7 separate regions of the Homo sapiens genome follow, and all the other regions are linked to region 1. The links are contacts of gene promoters, found by promoter capture Hi-C in blood cells and fetal thymus (Javierre and others, 2016). All regions are on one chromosome and are shown on one strand. The core of a region is centred on a gene start or on the middle of the fragment in contact, and the rest is flanking DNA. Distances in the headings are between cores, read along the strand shown. Region 1 holds the start of THRSP (thyroid hormone responsive). Region 2 overlaps NARS2 (asparaginyl-tRNA synthetase 2, mitochondrial). Region 3 overlaps RSF1 (remodeling and spacing factor 1). Region 4 overlaps NARS2 (asparaginyl-tRNA synthetase 2, mitochondrial). Region 5 overlaps RSF1 (remodeling and spacing factor 1). Region 6 overlaps RSF1 (remodeling and spacing factor 1). Region 7 overlaps GAB2 (GRB2 associated binding protein 2).

The links. The method cuts DNA at HindIII sites, captures the fragments that hold promoters and counts their contacts. A CHiCAGO score of 5 or more calls a contact.
Region 2: a fragment that was not itself captured here is called in contact with the fragment with the promoter of THRSP in region 1 in 1 of 17 cell types (activated CD4 T cells); the score reaches 5.9 in activated CD4 T cells.
Region 3: a fragment that was not itself captured here is called in contact with the fragment with the promoter of THRSP in region 1 in 1 of 17 cell types (erythroblasts); the score reaches 5.3 in erythroblasts.
Region 4: a contact is called between a fragment that was not itself captured here and the fragment with the promoter of THRSP in region 1, in 4 of 17 cell types (activated CD4 T cells, M2 macrophages, total CD4 T cells and 1 more). The highest score is 6.9, in activated CD4 T cells.
Region 5: a contact is called between a fragment that was not itself captured here and the fragment with the promoter of THRSP in region 1, in 1 of 17 cell types (erythroblasts). The highest score is 5.9, in erythroblasts.
Region 6: a contact is called between a fragment that was not itself captured here and the fragment with the promoter of THRSP in region 1, in 2 of 17 cell types (endothelial precursors and non-activated CD4 T cells). The highest score is 7.5, in endothelial precursors.
Region 7: a fragment that was not itself captured here is called in contact with the fragment with the promoter of THRSP in region 1 in 2 of 17 cell types (activated CD4 T cells and non-activated CD4 T cells); the score reaches 5.5 in activated CD4 T cells.

The regions. Positions count from the first base shown.
Region 1 is chr11:78,062,377-78,065,369 of GRCh38, reverse strand. THRSP (thyroid hormone responsive) reads right to left here and starts at 1,509. Exons shown (of 2, transcript NM_003251.4): 1 at 1,029-1,509. The coding sequence starts at 1,488. The coding sequence ends at 1,048. All of the region lies in intron 1 of NDUFC2-KCTD14 (NDUFC2-KCTD14 readthrough), which reads left to right. The HindIII fragment of the contact is 4,485 bases long and covers 1-1,764 here.
Region 2 is chr11:78,454,585-78,457,577 of GRCh38, reverse strand. The region is part of intron 11 of NARS2 (asparaginyl-tRNA synthetase 2, mitochondrial); the gene reads left to right. Among named protein-coding and RNA genes, the nearest start is that of LINC02728, 26 kb to the right of the region's middle. The HindIII fragment of the contact is 2,929 bases long and covers 136-2,993 here.
Region 3 is chr11:77,677,879-77,680,871 of GRCh38, reverse strand. It overlaps RSF1 (remodeling and spacing factor 1), which reads left to right. Exons shown (of 16, transcript NM_016578.4): 12 at 2,719-2,786. Among named protein-coding and RNA genes, the nearest start is that of CLNS1A, 42 kb to the right of the region's middle. The HindIII fragment of the contact is 4,778 bases long and covers 1-2,993 here.
Region 4 is chr11:78,435,370-78,438,362 of GRCh38, reverse strand. NARS2 (asparaginyl-tRNA synthetase 2, mitochondrial) reads left to right here. Exons shown (of 14, transcript NM_024678.6): 14 at 1,549-2,395. The coding sequence ends at 1,693. Among named protein-coding and RNA genes, the nearest start is that of LINC02728, 7.0 kb to the right of the region's middle. The HindIII fragment of the contact is 4,868 bases long and covers 1-2,993 here.
Region 5 is chr11:77,703,679-77,706,671 of GRCh38, reverse strand. The region is part of intron 5 of RSF1 (remodeling and spacing factor 1); the gene reads left to right. Among named protein-coding and RNA genes, the nearest start is that of RSF1-IT1, 35 kb to the left of the region's middle. The HindIII fragment of the contact is 5,156 bases long and covers 1-2,993 here.
Region 6 is chr11:77,733,133-77,736,125 of GRCh38, reverse strand. All of the region lies in intron 4 of RSF1 (remodeling and spacing factor 1), which reads left to right. It also overlaps the pseudogene FTH1P16. Among named protein-coding and RNA genes, the nearest start is that of RSF1-IT1, 5.1 kb to the left of the region's middle. The HindIII fragment of the contact is 2,148 bases long and covers 517-2,664 here.
Region 7 is chr11:78,384,159-78,387,151 of GRCh38, reverse strand. All of the region lies in intron 1 of GAB2 (GRB2 associated binding protein 2), which reads left to right. It also overlaps the pseudogene ZNF75CP. Among named protein-coding and RNA genes, the nearest start is that of GAB2, 32 kb to the left of the region's middle. The HindIII fragment of the contact is 809 bases long and covers 1,141-1,949 here.

The DNA of each region.
Region 1 (2,993 bases), core at 260-2,759:
CTGCTCATCCACACTCACCACCCCAGCCCCTCTGTGCATAGACATGTAGGCTTAGACTGGAACACATATTCATATGTACATACAACAGGGCTTCCCAACAGGCATGTCTGCATACTCCAGTTTGCCTGGAATGGATTAGAGTGCCATGACTGGTCCCTCGGCTTCCCGTTTGGTGGGTTCCAACCTGGGATGGTCAGAGTACCCCCAGCCTGTTGTAGCAGTACTGCAAGCAGCCTCACCTATGTATCCCCATGTGCCATATAATAATTTTCCATGTTCTGTGACTTGAAAAAATGTTGGGAAACACTGTCACACAAATGGAATTCACAATGTTCACTTAAATCAATGTGCATGCCTTAGGTAAGTTTTTTTTTTTTTTTTGAGATGGAGTCTCCCTCTGTCACCTAGGCTGGAGTGCAGTGGCACAATCTCAGCTCACTGCAACCTCTGCCTCCCAGGTTCATGCCATTCTCCTGCCTCAGCCTCCCGAGTAGCTGGGACTACAGGCACCCACCACCACGCCCAGCTAATTTTTTGTATTTTTAGTAGAGATTGGGTTTCACCATGTTAGCCAGGATGGTCTCAATCTCCTGGCCTCATGATCCGCCCGCCTCGGCCTCCCAAAGTGCTTTGGTGTGAGCCACCGCGCCTGGCCCCTCTTCAATTAAATTCTTAACAAAGTCACTGATGAGAACACACTCATTCAATTCACACATTTACAAGCATTCACATACTAATAAATGCACACATGCACAAACACATATATGTGCATATGAGATATGCCCTCACAGGCCACTTTTCCCTCTGTTTCCATATCACTTCATTGCAATTGCCAATTTGAGGTCAGAAGGATAGTAACACAGGCCTAGTCTTAGGCCCTCCTAGGTTGTGGTCCCAATACCCTGACCCAAGAGTGGCTCTGTCTGAAAGTCAGGCTGTTCCTCTCCCAGTGGGTTGCACCACTGCCCCCTCTCCTCTCCTGGAATGTCCCTTTGTAGACTCACACCCACCAGCATGGCCACCATTACCTTCCCTAGTGTCCAAGGTCTACCAAACTTGTCCCGTCATTTCCTGGTATTTCCTTGTCACCTCCTGGGCTTTCTCGGTGAGGTGCATGAGGATGTGATGGAGGCTGGAGAAGTGCAGGTGGAACTGGGCTTCCAGGTCCAGCTCTCCTGAGGCACTCTCGTCCTCGACTTCCTCTGTCTCTGCGGTTCCATTCTCTTCGCTGCCTGCCACCTTGGCCTGCCACTCCTCCCGCGGCAGCAGCCCATGGTCCACATCCACACAGATGGCCTTGAGCATGGTGAAGTAGGTGTAGAGATCAGGGGCCTCAGCCTGGGCCTGGCCCCCAGGCCCACTCAGCTGCACGTCCCGCAGAAGGCTGGGGATCATCACCACCTGCTCCATGTTGTGCACCTCGGCTGCATACCGGTCCATGACGGTCAGCAGGCAGTTCTTGGGGTAACGCTTGGTTAGCACCTGCATGGTTGCTTCCTCTGACACAATGAGACCAGCAGACTGCCCCCGCACTATTTCTAGGCTCTCGGCAGATTGACAGGATGCCAATGCCCAGCTGTTGGGTCAACACAGCCCTGTTTTGGGCCAATCCCAGGGCTCAGGCCCCAGCATCTGTATCAGGTGATCCATCTGCCCAGAGACAGATCTGCCAGCCTTCTACTTGTCATCCCAGCTCTGCATGACTGCCCCAGCAAGAACCCGACTCTTCCTCTGTCAGCTTGCTGAGCCAGTTGGAAGGAAGCTTTTCCCTTTGGCAACTGGTATACTGGACTTCAGGGCAATAAATAATTCTTTCAGGTCACTGGAGACCAAGCTGTCTCTTTGCTGCCTGCTTAGGGCAGCCCTCCAAAGCACAGTTCACTCCTTCAACCTGGGGTGACTCCATTGTGAAATGGAGAGGATTTGAAGTGAAACAGCTTGATGTGGGGCAAGGAACACTGAGGTTGGAGTCAGAAGCCCAGTACTGCAATTTCCTAGCTGAGTTTTTTTTTGTTTGTTTTTTGCTGGCTAACATTTATTGAGCACCTACTGCACATCAGGGTCTGCTGAGCTTTTTCGTGAGTGATCTCATTTAATCTTCACCACAACCCTTGTAAATGTTTTATTTATTTAATTTTTGTAGAGATGGTCTTGCTATGTTGCCCAGTCTGGTTTTGAACTTCTGGACTCAAGCAATCCTCCCACCTCAGCCTCCCAAAGTGCTGGAATTGCAGGTGTGAACCACCAGTATTCCTGTTTTGCCAGTGAGGAAATTTAGGTGCAGACAGCTAAAGTAACTTGCTCAAGGTCCCACTGGGGCTGGGATTCCAGCCCAGGACCACCTCTACCCACCTCCAGGCAGTGCTGTGGACTGACATGAGGTTACATAGTCATACAAGTTAACCAGATCCATATCCTCTGTAAATTTGAGGTGGTGTGAGGATTGAATAAGACAAACTAATAAAAATGCTTTGTATCAGTCCAGACAAGCGGCTGGGATCAAAAGAGGAAAAAAAATGCTTTGTAAACCACAAAGCCCAATCCTCAGATGTATTATCTATGCAGATTCTAGATTATTGCTAAGGCTTCTCCCAAATCTAACCAGTCATTCCATAAGCTACAATGCTTCCACTTTATTACTGACCTTTCCTTGGACCAGCAGTCTTGGAAGATAATAATCTTTTGCGTGGTCATATTGTCATAGTTTACAAACTGCATTTGCTATATATTTTTTATTAGATATTTAAGAAAATGGCCGGGCGCAGTGGCTCACGCCTGTAATCCCAGCACTTTGGGAAGCCCAGGCGGGTGGATCACGAGGTCAGGAGATCGAGACCATCTTGGCTAACGTGGTGAAACCCTGTCTCTACTAAAAATACAAAAAATAAGCCGGGCGTGGTGGTGGGCGCCTGCAGTCCCGGCTACTCGGGAGGCTGAGGCAGTAGAATGGCGTGAACTCAGAAGGTGGAGCTTGCAGTGAGCCGAGATGATGC
Region 2 (2,993 bases), core at 351-2,850, 390 kb before region 1:
AATTTATTTAAACTTGTTACATTAGCCATAGAGAATAACATTGGTACATTAGCAGTGTACATTTCTTTTCAATCCATTTGTATGAAGTGCCTGCTTCTATCCCTCATTTGTTGTTTTCTGGTGAAGGAAGAAGCTTTGGGCCAGATGACTAAATTCTGTTTCTTTTAGTAGGGCTGTAATAACTGGCTGTAAGTTCGCAAGAGTTCCTGTAATGGATGCAGTGCAGTCTTGAAAAAAATAAGACAGGTGTGTTTCATAGGTGCCTTCTTTAGGGAACCAAAAGAGAAGGATGGGGAAATATCTAATCTACACTTGTAACTTTTGGCCAGAGGGTAATAAATAGTAAAATGGTATGTTTTTACAGTTATAATTTATCTTCCTTTCTCCCCACCTCTCAGTAGAAATGAAGGTATGCGCTGTGGTGTACTGAAAAGTACACAGGATGCAGAGTGGTTCTGGGTTTGAAATCTAGATACCTTACTAGTTACCTGTGTCACCTCAGGCAAGTCTCTGTGATCTTTCAGCCTCAATTTCTCCCTCTGTATAATCAGAGAATTGGATTAAGTGACCTCTAAAGTATTACCTCTCTAAGATTCTCTGATTTCCTGTAGCCTAAGTTTTTCTTCATATGCATGGATAAGACTAACTTATAAATTACTGAGCATATTTGATCATTTGAAAGGGACAGATCATGGGAAAATGAATCTAAGCAAATATGCAAAATGCCATATGCCTCTGAGGCTGGTCTCCAGGTAAGTCCCTCAAAGCCAGGTGGCAGATGTTCAGCTGGGGGAGTGGCTTCACAGAGAAGAATAGTCTTTTATTCTACACACGTGTAATTAGGAAAAAGTGACTGCCCCTCAGTCCTTGATGAGATGCCACAATCACCAGGTAGTGTTCTAATTTTCAAAATTATATCAGTATTACTTAGCAAACCAGAGAAAGGTCAGCATTAGTGGGCATTCAGTAAAGTACATACTGTGAAGTCAACTCAGAAAGGAGAATACTCAGCCAAGGGGTGTGCAATAAATTTCCCAGAGCTGTGGCTAATTAACCAACCTGCATCAAAATAGCTCGAGCCACCAACCAACAGAAATAGTGATGAAGGGAATTGCCAATTTTCCCCATATCTAGGACTAAAGAGAATCCTAGAAATTTTTGTCAAAATTGAAAGTATCCATTTCAGTCTGTCGTAAAATACTTTGAGATTCTTTATCATGACATATTTTATATTAATACTTTGAATTGTAGAGTTAGGGAACATAGGGAAGAGAAATCCTTTTATGTGTGTGATACAGACTTCTAAGGTTTTGTTACCAAACTGTTTCTCCCATTTCAGTCTTCCCAGTGTGTCTTAATTGAACAAGTTTGGTTAAAGCAACTGAGATAAAAGTGAACGTAAATGCCTCCTAAGTCTTTTGGTAGAGTAAGAGTGTCGAGGAATCTTCATTATTAAAAGTAGCAAGGAAAAGACATTTAGGGAGTTGAGAAATTATTTATATTGTCTCACTTAACTAAATAAGATTAACTTTGTAAGATTAGAGATTACTTAAAACATGGTAGACAGAGGAAAATGGAAGAAAAGATTAACAAAGATTAAATTTTTGACGTTCCAAATTGACATCTATTATTGAGTACCCGTGTGGCAAGCATAACGTTAAAACATTCAAAAGAGAAAACAATAATGTTTATCGAGTATGTGCCGATAATTAACTTTTATCCCTTTCTTACAGATGAGGCTGCTACCTCTCAGTGCAGCAGTATAGTCACTCATGCAAAATCACACCGCTAGCAGGTATTGAAGCTAGGCTGTAAAGGCAGAAATACAGCATATATGGCAGCTTCATTAGAATCCTGATCTTTCTGGGAGTGAAGAGTTTGTGTGGGGTGGCAGGAAGAGCTATGGACTTAGAGCCAGGAGACTTGGGTTTTGTTCCTGGATATACCACTTGATCTTTCTTGTCCTCAGTATTCTCAGGGGATCATAGTCAATCTCTGGTGATAGAGGTCAGGAAAGAGGTTACTTTTGGTAGGGGTAGTAACTAAAAGAAGACCTTAGGAGGACTTTTTTGGGGTACTGCTATTGTTCAGTTTATTGATCCGTATGGTGCTTCATGGTGTGTTTGTGAAAATTTATAGAACTGTATACTAGTTATTTGTGTACTTTTTACACATATTTTATACTTTAAGTTTACTTTAAAAGGGAATTACACACTTGTATCATCACAGGTTTGTTGTGGAAATCAGATGAACAAATGTTTTTAAAATTGCTTTAAAAATTAAAATTCTATGCTATAAAAATAATGGAGTAAGGAATTATTGGGTGATAAAGATGGCTAGACAAGATAGGAACAATTATGGAGAGATTGGAGTGTTACAGATAGCTTGGGCTTTATCCAGTAAAAAACAGAGAGGCATTGTATGTATTCTAAGATACTGGCAAGATGAAAAAATTAACCTGACATATAGAATGGATTGGGGAAGGGGGGAATTAAAGACACATAAGATAATTATGGGACTTTTGCTTATAATCTCAACAGTGAAAATGGAGAGAAAGAAATGAACCTAAAACATTCTGAAGGAATAAACAGTGGTCTGTGTGTTAGTCCATTTTACTGAAATAGAGTTGCTCTAAGTTGCTATAAAAAAATACCTGAGACTGGCTGGGCACGGTGGCTCATGCTTGTGATCCCAGCACTTTGGGAGGCCAAGGCAGGCAAATCACAAGGTCAGGAGTTCGAGACCAGCCTGGCCAACATGGTGAAACCTGTCTCTACTAAAAATACGAAAAATTAGCTGAGCGTAGTGGCAGGTGCCTATAATCCCAGCTACTTGGGAGGCTGAGGCAAGAGAATCGCTTGAACCCGGGAGGTGGAGGTTGCAGTGAGCCGAGATCACGCCACTGCACTCCAGCCCAGGCGACAGAATGAGGCTACATTAAAAAAAAAAAAAACACCTGAGACTTGGTAATTTATAAAACAAAGAGTTTTATT
Region 3 (2,993 bases), core at 183-2,682, 380 kb after region 1:
CTGGCTTTATATGTATCTGCTATTCTACCCTAGTGAATGGATGTGCTGAGTTTTACTTTCTCAGAACTTAAGACAAATCCACACTGCAGCTACAAGAATGTTTCTCATAATATTGCAATTGTGAAAAATTGGAAATAAACTGTTTTAACTAAATATGATACATCTGTAAGGTGAGATACTATGCAGCCAGTAAAAATTACATTGTAAAAGAAGAGCTCTCCATCTGAAATTTGTGAGTCCTTTGAAATTATATATTCTAACTCAGAAGGCAGGATGTTTAGTTTTTAGAGACGGGGTCTTGTTATGTTGCCTAGACTGGACTCCCAACTCCTGGGCTCAAGCCATCCTACTGCCTCAGCCTCCCAAATAGTTGGGACTATGGGTGTATACAGCCACTTCCAGCCTCCAGCTTTTAGTCTTTTTTCTTTTTTTGAGACAGGATTTCACTCTGTCACACAGGCTGGAGTGCAGTGGCATGATCACAGCTCACTGCGGCCTCGAACTCCTATCCACAAGCAGTCCTATTGCCTCAGCTTCCCAGAGTGCTAGGACTACAGGCACACATCACCACACCTGGCTAATTTTTTTAATTTTTTATTTTTGTAGATACAGGGTCTCACCATATAGCCCAGATTGGTCTCAACCTCCTGGGCTCAAGTTATACTCCTGCCTCAGCCTCCCAAGAGTGCTGAGCCACTGCACCCAGCCCTAGCTTTTAGTTTTGATGCTGTTGTTAATCCATTGTGTGCCCGTAATCCCACCCTCTTCAATATAATATACTCTGGTGATGGAAATAGAATCTATTTCTTTGATGTCTGATATGGTGGCCATAGCCATATGTGACTATTGAATACTTGAATTATGTCTAGTGAGGAACAGAATTTTAAATTTTAATGAATTTAAATATAAATAGCCACACAGGCTAGTAATTACCATTTTTAGCGTAGATTTAAACAAGTTACTTCATCCTTTTGGCTGAGCCCTGAAGTAAAAGGCATTTTATATGTGAAGAAATCTTAGGAATCCTTTAGTCTTGATCCTTTTCTTTAAGTCAAGGTAAACAGCTTCAAGAAATACTTTTACCTAGTTCTAAAATTTTAACCATTTGTGTATGAATTTCAGTTATAATATAATTTTCAATAGCAGTAATAATATAGCCCTATTATTGGGACTCTTTTTCTTTTCTTTTTTTTTTTTTTGAGACAGGGTCTCGCTCTGTCCCCCAGGCTGGAGTGCAGTGGTGCATTCTCGGCTTACTTCATCCTCTGCCTCTTGGGCTCAAGCAATCCTCTTGTCTCGGCCCCCCAAGTAGCTGGAACTACAGGCACGCACCACACACCCAGCTAATTTTTTGTATTCTTTATAGAGACAGGGGTTCACCATGTTGCCCAAGCTGGTCTTGAACTCCTGGGCTCAAGTGATCTGCCTGCCTTGGCCTCCCAAAGTGCTGAGATTACAGATGTAAGCCACTGTGCCCAGACATATTATTAGGACTTAATAGTATTTATGGAACTGTAATTTTGTTTTACTTACTTTGCCATGTGATTTGTATAATTAGGAGTTGGCAAATTATGGCCTGTGGGCCAAATTCAGCTCACTTCTAGTTTTTGTACAACGTGACCTCAAAGTGGTTTTTATAAATGTTTGAAGAAAAGGATCAAAAGAAAAATGATATCCTGTGAAAATTATATGGAAATTACCTATAATTCAAATTTTAATGCTCATAAAGTTTTATTGAAACACGTCTGTATCATTTACTTACATGTTGTCCGTAGCTGCTTTGCACTACAATAGCAGAGTTGAGTAGTTACAACAGAGACTGCATTGTCTGAAAAGCCTAAAATATTTACCATCTGGCCCTTTATAAAAATTTTTGCTGACATTGCCTCAGTCTAATTTGGCTGCTATCAGAAAGTAACCGTAAACTGGATAGCCTATAATCAACAGAAATTTATTTCTTGCGGTTCTAGAAACTAGGAGGTCCAAGGTCAAGATACTGGCAGGTATGCTGTCTGGTGAGGGCCTGCTTTCTGGTTCATAGATGGCACCTTCTAGGGTGTTCTTAATCACGGAAGGGATGAGGGGAGTTTTTAGGGTAGACCCGATGCCTAGTGAAGGCCTGCTCCTTCATAGATGGCCATCTTCTCACTGTAACCCCATATGGTGGAAGAAACAAAGGGTCTCTCTCTGGCTTCTTTTATATGGGCACTAATCTTATACATGAGGGCTCTGCCAAAGACCCCACCTCCTAATACCATCACCTTGAGATTTAATATTTCAACATGGGGATTTTGAGGGGACATAAACAATCAGACAGTAACAGACATCTGCTAAAGGTAATCTTTAAAAATAAAAGGACAGCTGGGTGCGGTGGCTCACGCCTGTAATCCCAGCACTTTGGGAGACTGAGGCGGGCAGATCACGAGGTCGAGATCGAGACCATTCTGGCCAACATGATGAAACCCTGTCTCTACTAAAAGTACAAAAATTAGCTGGGTTTGGTGGCACGCGTCTGTAGTCCCAGCTACTCGGGAGGCTGAGGCTGGAGAATCCCTTGAACCCGGGAGGCAGAGGTTGCAGTGAGCCGAGATGGCGCCACTGCACTCCAGCCTGGCAACAAAGAGAGACTCCGTCTCAAAAATAAATAAATAAAAATAATTAAAAAAAAAAAAAAAAAAGCCAGGACAGGCTATAATGTGATCATTGTGTATATTTTAGATTTGATGAGTTTGATGAAGCAATTGATGAAGCTATTGAAGATGACATCAAAGAAGCCGATGGAGGAGGTATGTGTTTGTCGTTCTCTCTTCTTCATAGAACTCTGCCAAGAAGTTCATTCAGGTGCCCAAATTAGGGCAGTGAGCATATGTTTTTATTCTCTTTCCCGTTATGTATCATGATTAGTACTGATGTTAGTTGTCTCAGATTTAGAGTAATTTGTGGATACAATGTCAGTGTATAGACTCAGATCTTACTAACTACTTTTAAAGCAG
Region 4 (2,993 bases), core at 135-2,634, 370 kb before region 1:
TAGCAACTAAACATTTCAGTTATTCAAGACTGAATAACTGAATGTGCCTCCCATTATTTCTTATAGTTATTACTAATCTGAAGTTTTATACTAGATATCCCTGTAATGTTGGTCTCTTACCTGATTACAACTCATCTGTTTGGAGTTAATCTTTTCCTTTAAAAAGATAAGTGCTTAGACTTAACTCCTTGCAATACCAGTATATGTAGCCATTATTATTAATGGTGGGGAAATAGGTTGATGGACAGTCTTTATGACTGAGGAACCAAGTGGCTACAAGTTATGTTGCTTACGTCTTATTATAGAACTGATTTTACAAATCATTCAAGAAAATATAAACTTGCTTGGTTTTTGTCTTTTTTTTTTTTTCTTTCTTTTTTTTTTTTTTGATACAGAATCTCACTCTGTCACCCAGGCTGGAGTGCAGTGGCTCCATCTCTGCTCACTGCAACCTCCACTTCCCAGGTTCAAGCGACTCCTCTGCCTCAGCCTCCTGAGTAGCTGGGATTACAGACGGGCGCCACTACGCCTGGCTAATTTTCCTATTTTTAGTAGAGACGGGGTATCACCACTTTGGCAGTGCTGGCCTTGAACTCCTGAGCTAGTGATCCGCCCACCTCGGCCTCCCAAAGTGCTGGAATTACAGGCATGAGCCACCACACCCGGCCGATAAACTTGTTTTAATCAATATTATATAACTCAAGAATTTCCCCACAAAATGACATAATAAAATATTTATAGTTGCCCTTTTCCTCTTTTCTTCCTAAAACTTTTTCCAGTGCTGGTGTGTTAGAATCTGAGTTTCAGTCATGTCTGTGCCATTGTCTTGCCATGTGGTCTTTAGTGGGAAAAGAATGTGCGTGGATGGGTTTCAGAGGCTGTCTAGCATGTCAGCTAAATGACTCTGGGCATCTTCACTAGGCCTAAGGCAGAGAATTAAAGGTTTCTCCTCACTCCAGCATTCAAGCATATATTTTTGTGCCTTCAAACAAAACTTCATGTAATTAACACCTACTCTAGAGCTCCCTGGTGATAAAAAGTTGAATGAAGCACAGTTCCTGCCCTGTTGTAGCTTATAATCTAATCTATAGGATATCTTTTCATAATGTAACAGGCAAAACTCTGCACTCTCCTCTGTGTATTGAACAATATGATTTTGGGAAGGAAAAGAAAACATTGTGATTAACCTACCAAGAAATAAAAGAGGCGTATATTTTCAAGAAAATTAGTAAATCTATAGAAAATTTTCTGTAGCCTCCTGAGGCAAGTTTTCTGTCATAAATGCATAAATATAATAGCTTAAAAAGGAAAAGGGACCAAAGCCCATGACTGTATGACAGGATCCACTGCTGTTTCTCTGGGTAACCTTGGATAGATTATTCAGCTTCTTCCTTTCCATTGTCTGTCTGTGGAGGGGAAAGACTGGTCTATCACAGTGAGGTAAACAATAACAAATGATTGCAAAATACGTTTGAAACATTAAATTCTAATCATAACATCTGGTCTTATACTATATATAGATGATGATTTTCTATTTTTGAAAAACAGGTATCTGGACCTTCGTCGATTTGGATCTGTGCCACATGGAGGTTTTGGGATGGGATTTGAACGCTACCTGCAGTGCATCTTGGGTGTTGACAATATCAAAGATGTTATCCCTTTCCCAAGGTTTCCTCATTCATGCCTTTTATAGCTGGAAGATTGGTTAAGGAAAAGCACCCCCCATGGCAGAGACACTGCACATGATTGTGCATACAGCAGAATGCATGTTTGGATTTTAGAAATGCAGATTTCAATATGTAATTGTTGTGCCATAAGATATCATAGAAAAAATATAAGTGGTTGTGATTTTCTTAGAAAGTTGAGGGTATTTCACGTAAGGATGAGCTCCCGCAAGAAGAGGTACTTATAGCAAGGGGACTCTCAAATCCATTACCTCAATTAAGAAATGAAGAAATTGAATTAGTCTCAAAGTTTCTTTTAAACTCTAAAACAGAATGAGATAATGTATTTTACGTTGTCTATAATCATTAAATCACTCCCTGTGTAATTTGTGAGAACCATCTAGTAGCTCGAAATAAAATAATGTTGCATCTTTTCTCCCTTGCCATATACTTTGTGATAAATCCTTATCTCATTTTCAGTACTTCATTAAACATTGCAGAAAAAAATATTCCTTAAGGTCTTAATTGATTTAAAGAAGTAGCTATTCTGAATTGAAATCTCCTTTCATTGAACTGGATGAAAAAATCATGTTTAATAACTGTTGCTTTTCAATTTTCAAAGCTGTTGAGATATTACATTAAGTATTTCAACTCTTTAATCACTGTTGTTATAATTTGTTTATATTTGATGTTTATAATTTGTCTAATAAAATAGATTTTTTTAATAGACACCTATGGAAAAAAAGTTATATATTTTTTAATTTCATTTGGTCCTTTCCCAGTAAAATTTGGAAGAAAGGTATTTTCAATCCAAGATGAGGATGGGAGTTTGGCTGAGCCTAAAGGATGGGTAATTCTAGAGTTAAAAGTAGTGTGGTCAGCTGGGCATGGTGGCTCACGCCTGTAATTCCAGCACTTTGGGAGGGTGAGGCGGGCGGATCACTTGAGGTCAGTAGTTCCAGACCAGTCTGGACAACATGGTGAAACCCCATCTCTACTAAAAATACAAAAATTAGCCAGGCGTGGTGGCAGGCGCCTATAATCCCAGCTACTTGGGAGGCTGAGGCAGGAGAATCACTTGAACCCGGGAGCCGAGGTTACGGTAAGCAAAGAACGGGCCACTGCCCTCCAGCCTGGGAGACAGAGGGAGACTCCATCTCAGAAAAAAAAAAAAAAAAAAAAAAAGTACTGTGGTCTATGAGAGTGAGAAGAGCATTGATTGGGGAGTTTAGAACCTGACAATTCTAGCACTTTAGACAGGCTGCTTACTGTGTAGGAGCTCAACATCATTTTCTTCAGAGTTGATAAAATAATTACATGTGTGTTTGT
Region 5 (2,993 bases), core at 334-2,833, 360 kb after region 1:
AAAAAAAAAATTAGGAAAGTGAGGAATCTTAAAAGGTACAAAATAGCAATTGCTTACTAGGCAGAGTTAACAGAGTAAAACAAAAAAGTGATGGCAGCTTTGGGAAACTGAATTTTCCGATGTGGCTGAAGTTTCTGGTAAAAAGATGGGGCCAAATAATTAATAATAGCTCCCAAGTACTGTGTAAAAGTACTTTGCATGCTCCATTTTCAAAAAGTCCCCTAAGATAAAAAGAAAAAAAAATCCTCACAGCTCCTCCTTGAGGTATAGATATTTATGTTTCAGTTTTAAAGAGCTTAGAGTCTAAAGAGACTTAGAAAGTTTCAAGTAATTTTCTAAAGGTCCCACAGCTGGCCAAGGTGGAGGTGACACAAGAGCGTTAAGGTTTGTCTGACTCTTTGAGAGTCTTAATTTTTTTTTTTTTTTTTTTTGGAGACAGAGTCTCACTCTGTCGCCAGGCTGGAGTGCAGTGGGGCAATCTCAGCTCACTGCAGCCTCTGCCTCCCGGGTTCAAGCCATTTTCCTGCCTCAGCCTCTCGAGTAGCTGGGACTACAGGCTCACACCACCCCACCCTGCTAATTTTGTATCTTTAGTAGAGACAGGGTTTCACCGTGTTGACCTTTGTGATCTGCCCACCTTAGCCTCCCAAAGTGCTGGGATTACAGGCGTAAGCCACTGCACCTGGCTGAGAGTCTTAATTTTTAATGAAATAGTTCAAATAAAAAATAGTATAAAACACTTGTATATCCAACATTTTATTTGTGTGGTGGGTTTTTTTGTTGGTTTGTTGGGTTTTTTTGTTTTTTTGGTTTTTTTTTGAGACAGGGTCTTGCTTTGTCGCACCAACAAGAATGTAGTGAGTCATAGCTCACTACAGCCTTGACTTCCTGGGCTCAAGCAATCCTCCCACGTAGCTGGGACCACAGCTCCTTCTCCAGGTATTGTGTATAGAATCTGGACCCAAAGAAGGGAAAAGGGCAAAAGGCACCAGTCAGCTGACTCCCTTCTCACCCACGACTTCCTCATACATGTCATTGGTCATAACTGGATCACATGACTCACAGCTTTAAGGTGTTTGAGGAGGCAAGTGCCTTCCTGAACAAAATAAGTTCTGTTTGTAAAAAGGAAGAGGAGAATAGATAATCGGCAGGCAACTCAGTGTCTTCTACTGTTAACTTTTATAGAATATTCAATGTATCATTACAGAGTGATTCTGCTAGGGGTGGTGGAGAAAGCACATAATAAGTGATCAATAAATATTTGTTGAGTAAATGAATGAATCACCTTTAAAAACCCACAGTAGCTACCACTTCTCTTGAGTCACCTCATTTGTGAAGAAATGTGATGCTGTGTTTCAATTTTTGGAGTGAATTTTTCCTTTGGTCACTTCAAATTTTATGCCTTTTAAACTCATTTATGTGCTCTTTTACAACTTTCTTTTGACAAACTTTGGGAAAATGCTTGTGTAACTGACCTTTTTACTAATTATTATAGTGCTTAAAGGTTCATATTCTGTCCTAGTTCTTCCTTCCTCTACACTATTTTGGAAACATATTTATTTAATTTAGAGGAGCTAGAATATTAATTGTTGTCATTTTTTTCTCTTAAAAGAACCAAGCCGGCCAGGCATGGTGGCTCACACCTGTAATCCCAGCATTTTGGGAGGCCAAGGTGGGCGGATCACCTGCAGTCAGGAGTTCGAGACCCGCCTGACCAACATGGAGAAACCCCGCCTCTACTAAATATACAAAATTAGCCGGGCGTAGTGGTGCATGCCTGTAATCCCAGCTACTGGGAGGCTGAGGCAAGAGAATCGCTTGAACCCAGGAGACGGAGGTTGTGGTGAGCTGAGATCATGCCATTGCACTCCAGCCTGGGCAACAAGAGCGAAACTTCGTCTCAAAAAAAAAAAAAAAACCAAGGCAAACACACAAAAAACCAAAGAATTTAACATTTTTAGAATAAAAGAAATATGACACCAGCGAAGAATAATAGTTGAGGTTATTTAGTCCAGCTGCTTTATTTATAGATGAAGAAAGATCAGTGAGTTTGTGACACACCCAAAGATGCATCACTAGCTAAATTAGTGTTAGTGAACCTGGGAATCTTGAACCTAATGTCATTTCTTGTTTTATTTTGCTATGTTGTTACTCAAACCAAGATCAGTTACCTTCGAATGAAAACATGGAGAAATCTGAAGAAACTGAGAAACTTAATTTTACGTTGGATCAGGGTCATGATGAAATCTTTAGATACTTTCTGAACCATAGAATAGGGATAAAAAATATTAACTTGTGTTTAGCCACACTTAGTATTGGGTTGAAGGTTTTTTTGTTTTGTTTGTTTGTTTCTATTTTTTGAGACAGGATCTCACTCTGTCACCCAGGCTGGAATGTATCCAGGCTGGAATGTGGTGGCATGATCAGGGATCAGGGTTAACCTTGAACTCCTGGGCTCCAGTGATCCTTCCACCTCAGCCTACCCAGTAGCTGGAACTACAAGCACACACCACCATGCCCCGGCTACTTTTTGTATTTTTTGTAGAGACAGAGTTTCACCATGCTGTCCAGGCTGGTCTCAAACTCCTGAGCTCAAGCGATCCACCCAACTTGGCCTCCCAAAGTGCTGGGATTAAAGGCGTGAGCCATTGCACGTGGCAGTTGAAGTTATTTTTAAAGATAGTAATCAGTATTTTAACCGTTAAACAAGGTGTTCATTTAGTTAAATTTCCTGATATACTAGCTAATCTCAATAAATGAGAATTTATTAAACCTGTTTTATCAGTGGGAAAGAGAAAACATGCAACTTAGGTAATTACTGTCATCTCTGTTTTTTTCTTACCTTATTTATGCTGTAGGACTTTTATATTTTGAATTTTTGAAATTTTTTTTTACTCTCATCTCTTGAAATATTTTAGCAGCATTCCCTATGGCACTGACTTTGTAAAGAAGGAAGAAATACTGATTACAGTTGCTTAACTCTCAGACACTGA
Region 6 (2,993 bases), core at 341-2,840, 330 kb after region 1:
TCAATTAAACGTGCAAGTTTATGTGAAGTGGAGTTTTGTAAGAGGCAGTAATCTTTTTAGCAAGAGATTTCTTTAGAAAATCAAGTGATGGCCGGGTGCGGCGGCTCACACCTGTAATCCCAGCACTTTGGGAGGCCAAGGCGGGCGGATCATGAGGTCAAGATATCGAGACCATCCTGGCCAACATGGTGAAACTCCGTCTCTACTAAAAATACAAAAATTAGCTGGCATTGTGGCGTGTGCCTGTAGTCCCAGCTACTCGGAAGGCTGAGGCAGGGGAATCACTTGAACCCAGTAGGCAGAGGTTGCAGTGAGCCAAGATTGCGCCACTGCACTCCAGCCTGGCGACAACAGAGCGGCCTCCATCTCAAAAAAGAAGAAAAAAGAAAATTAAGTGATAAGGGAAGAACAAGTAAAGCAAATGAGATTTTGACTTTGACTTTTTCATTTAATAGGTTGCATTTAGGTGCTTTTCTTAGCTAGTAAGTATTATTTTTTACTAGTAAATTAAAAGCTTCTTGTTTTTTCTTAAAACAATTTCTTTAAAGTAACAGTATTATTTTCTTGGTGATCGGCTGGTGTTGGAAACGTGTTTCTACCTAATTCTTAAAAGAGGATTATATAACAAAAGTTATCTAGTCTTTAGGGTTCCGTTTTCTAAAGCTAATAAGTCAGCCTTCTTAATGATTGATAAATTTAGAAATATAACTGAACTTTGCAAATTAAACATCAAATGGAATTTTTAAAAAATGAGAATCCACCAAAAAGGGATAATTTTACATAGTTGATCTACTGAAAATTTCATACCATGACATCACCACAGTCTTAAAACTTGTACTGTTACGTAGCAACTTCCATTTCTGCAAGTTGCAAAATTAATAATATAAATATAGAGACGTTCTTTGCCGAGAGTCGTCGGGGTTTCCTGCTTCAACAGTGCTTGGACGGAACCCGGTGCTCGTCCCCCACCCCAGCCGGCCGCCCATAGCCAGCCCTCCCTCACCTCTTCACGGCACCCTCAGACCGCCCCAAGGCCCCTGCCGCCGCCCCAGCGCCACGCAGCCACTGCCACCGCCGCCACCTCTCCTTAGTCGCCGCCATGAGGACCACGTCCACCTCACAGGTGCGCCAGAACTACCACCAGGACTCAGAGGCCGCCATCAACCGCCAGATCAACCTAGAGCTCTGTGCCTCCTACGTTTACCTGTCCATGTCTTACTGCTTTGACCGTGATGATGTGGCTTTGAAGAACTTTGCCAAATACTTTCTTCACCAATCTCATGAGGAGAGGGAGCATGCTGAGAAACTGATGAAGCTGCAGAACCAACGAGGTGGCCGAATCTTCCTTCAGGATATCAAAAAACCAGACTGTGATGACTGGGAGAGCGGGCTGAATGTGATGGAGTGTGCATTACATTTGGAAAAAAATGTGAATCAGTCACTACTGGAACTGCACAAATTGGCCACTGACAAAAATGACCCCCATTTGTGTGACTTCATTGAGACACATTACCTGAATGAGCAGGTGAAAGCCATCAAAGAATTGGATGACCATGTGACCAACTTGCACAAGATGGGAGCACTCGAATCTGGCTTGGCAGAATATCTCTTTGACAAGCACACCCTGGGAGACAGTGATAATGAAAGCTAAGCCTCGGCTAATTTCCCCGTAGCCGTGGGGTGACTTCCCTGGTCACCAAGGCAGTGCATGCATGTTGGGGTTTCCTTTACCTTTTCTATAAGTTGTACCAAAACATCCACCTAAGTTCTTTGATTTGTGCCATTCCTTCAGATGAAGAAATTTGGTACCCCCCCCCAAAAAAAGTAATAATAATAATATAAATATATGTATTAGATGAATAGATAGGAAGCAATTAACTTATATATAATTATACTTTAAGTTGAAACAAGATTTAGTATGTGATTTACAAAACAATAGAAGTAGTTAAGTTTCATTAAACCATATGAAATTGTTAACATTTGAACATTTTGACCTATAAAAATGGTGATTTCATATGGCTCAATCAAGTATTATAACAGGTTTCAATAGCAAAAATGTTTAAGCTCCAGCCAGTGTCCTACTTATTCCAGTTAATGTTTAAAACAGAATTGCCACAAAAGCATTATTTCATCTTTAGGCCTCAATGAAAGAAGATAAAAGTACAGAAAAAAAAATTTTACATCTAATCAAATATGATGTAATAAGTGATTTTATTCACTCCATGGGGTATGTCAATAGAATTTGTTTAGGAATGAAAAAGATGGGCTCAGCATGATGGCTCACACCTATAACCTCAGCACTTTGGGAGGCCCAGGTGAGCAGTTTGCTTGAACCCAGCAGTTGGAGACCTGCCTAGGCAACTTGATGAAACCCTGTCTCTACAACAAATACAAAAATCAGCAAGGTGTGGTGGCACTTGCCTGTAGTCTCAGTGACTTGAGAGGCTGAGGTGGGAGGATTGCTTGAGCACAGGAGCTTGAGGCTGCAGTGAACTGTGATTGTACCACTGCACTCTAGCCTGGGCAACAGAGTGAGACCCTGTGTCTCAAAAAAAAAAAAAAAAAAAATCAAAGATGTAAACATAACAAGGTGGTAGTGTTTGGTTATTAATGATTAGAGAATTTTAGCAAATAAAGACCATAGACCAGATTCCATCACAAGCTTCTTCAGGATCTTAGTGGGACTACAGAAAGTACTTTTGTACCAAGTATACTAAGGAAGATAAAGTTATATGCAGACTATTAAGCAGTTACTTCATAAAGAATATATATATATATAGCCAGTATTCATATGAAAAAGTGCTTAGCATCATTATTCATTGTAGAATTTCCAATTAAAACCACAATGAGGTATTACCTTACTTCCATTAGAATTAGTAAAACGAAAATGGCTTACAGCACCAAATGTTAACAAGGATATGAACCAACTGAAACACCTTCTTGTATATGTAAAATGATACAACCACTTTGGGAAAGTTTTGCAGTTTCTTCAA
Region 7 (2,993 bases), core at 296-2,795, 320 kb before region 1:
AAGGACTGCTTCAGCCTAGCAGCTCTAGGCTACAGTGAGCTATGACCTAGCCACTGTACTCCAGCCTGGGTGACAAAGTGAGTCCCCACCTCATTCATTGATTGATTGATTCATTCATTCATTATTTTGGTAACAACGTTTTGTTTAATGTCTAAATCTAACAAAACATGTCATTTTGATTTAAAAGTACAATTTTATGAAATAATAAATATATAGAAGGCTTGGCCAACATTTATAAACCAGATGTAAATCCGTGCCTTCCAACTTCCTTGACATCACATTGTCTCTTCGTAAGAGATAGTCACTTTGGCCAGTAGGGAAGACAGGAAAACCAATAACATGAGTAAACAATTTACATCTTGCCTGGCCCTGACTGCGGTCATTACTCTAAGCCACATGCCTTACTTTGCTCTGACACTTCAGGATGTTCCCTCCTGGTATTAGCTGTGCACCAAGGCTAAGAGGTCACAGGGCCCTCCTTGCCATTCTCAATAAATCAGTTTTGGAAAACCTCCAGGCCTTCTTGCAGAGTATTCAGGCATATAGGGTTGTAGCTGATCAGCCATAAGGACAGGCCTCCCTTTAGGCCCTGCAGCAGTGTAGCACCAGTTTGAAAGCCTCCATCCAGTGCACATAATGAAAGTCAGAAAAAGACCTTCATTACTTATGTGTACTTTCTACAAAGAAACAGATACCTGGATGAGGGCCAAGACTGCCTCCTTCATCATTCCATTTTGTGTTGTCTGTGTTGACAGAGTCAGCAAGAGAAGAGATATCAAGTGCTTGCAGGGTCCCTAGGTCTGTCCTTGTAGCCAGACCTTCCCTTGCTACTTGTAATTCCTTGACAGAAGACATTGTGGTAGTGGGTACTCAGGAAAGAAGCAACTAGAATGGGGCACTTCTCCCAGGGCAAACACTGAATCCTCTTTCTGTTATAAAGTTCCCTGAGTCCTGGGTTTGATTGTTCACATAGATAGAATGATAGCTATTGAAACTGTCCCTAACTTAGTAATTCTCTCTGAACTCCCTTGAGAGGGCCCAGGTACTCTTACCTTCCATCTCTCCTGACAAAGAATAAAGAATGAGTCTAAGAGTCTTGACCATCATATATCTCAGGCACTGACTGGGGATGGGGAAGCTTTGAATAACCAGATACATACGTATAGATAGACAGGTAAAGATATCTCATAGCTACACTTTCATTTTTTTATTAATAAAATACTAATTATGTATCAGTCTTGTGCTAGGCATGAAAGATGCAATGCTGAATAAGACAGGTTAGATAACTTTTGTGAAGCATAATATGTACCCCTCCCAAATGTTCTGTTGATGACAGATTCCTATCATTGGGTGCCTCATAATTTTGTATTCTTTCATCACATCTAAAATCAATCTCTACATGGTAACTTTCCTCAGTTTGGAGACATTGGACATGCTTCCCATCTTCTGTGGAGTTTCTGGTGTCTAAGAAGGCTCAACTGCCTACTAAAGTTTCTCCTGCATATGCTACAAGTATAAGGCTGCTCACCTGTGTGAGTTCTCTGGTATTTAATAAGGTTGGATTTGTGAATGAATATTTTCCCACATTCATGACATTTAAAGGGCTTCTCTCCTGTGTGAATTCTTTGGTGTGTTTGTAGATTTGTGTCATAACTAATGCTTTTCCCATACCATGAGCATCTATATGGGTTTATTCCTTGATGTGTCATGAAGTGCTTATTAAGACCTGAACTCCATCTAAACCTCCTGTCACATTGTTGACATTTATAGAGTTTCTCTTCAGTGTGAATTCTCTGGTGCTTAATAAGATCTGAGCTAACTCTGAAGATTTTCCCACAGTCCTGACATTTAAAAGGTTTCTCTCCTGTGTGGCCTTTCCCGTGAAGATCCATAAGTTTTGGAAGCTCTTGTTTACAAGTTGTAAGTTTCTTTTCTTCCTTGGAAAAGCTTGATGCCATTTCTATACCCTGTGTGTATCACCATGATTTTCCCTGTCCTTTGTTTTCTGGGCAATTTTCATTCTGGTCTTTTTTGATACTTTGTATCCTGCTGTTTGTATTTCAGGTGCAGAAACCGATATTATAGGATAGTCATTTCCATTGTCATTTTTTAGCTTTAACCCTAGAGAGATGGCAGTCTCATAGATATCCTGCATTACATCATTGTAGAGAGTCTTCTCAAGAGGACCTAATAATTGCCATTCTTCCTCAGAGAAGTACACAGCCATGTCTTCAAATGTCAATAAACTCTGGGACTCAGGCCAGATGAGCTTAGGTGCCATCTTCCAGTCTTTGGTGCTTTTGTGCTCAGAAAGGGCTAAAATCTGTTGAACATGCACAGCTCTTTCATATACAGGCTGGGTTTCTTTCTGAGTATTCCAGCCCAGCTGTTCTTGTAGTACCCTGTATGTGTTCCAGTATTCTTTCTAGAACAGACCCATTGGTTCGAGCTCTGCTGGCTTCCACTTGAAGCCTGGGGCCACTGTTGTTCCTCTCAAGAGCACTGCCTCCTCTCCCAGCTCATGGGCTGTGACCTCATTCTTTGTTCCACCAGGTTCTCTCTGCAAGCGTTCCACCAGGACCAGGGCCTGTTTGGCAAGCTGTGGATGATGCTTCTGCACCCAGTTCTGGGTCCCCTTTGGCAGGATGGTCAGGAAGTGCTCTAGTACCAGCATTTCCAAAATGTGCTTTTTTGAGTGGATCTCTGGCCTCAGCCACTGATGGCACAATTTCTGAAGTTGGTTGATAGCCTCAAGCGGTTCAGTTGCTTCATGATAATGGAAGCTCCGGAAGTGCCTGCAAGCACTCCCAGGACTGAGACACTCGATTTGTGTGCTGTATTTCTTACTCTGACTGGAGTTCTCTTTCACAGACCTGTTGGTCTCCCACATAGCTCCCATATGAGAGTTCAAGCATGCATCTGCCTTCAGCTCTCTCATTATCATTTGCTCTAGGAAGAGTTTTACTCCTGTGTGTGACATTCACACCCATCTG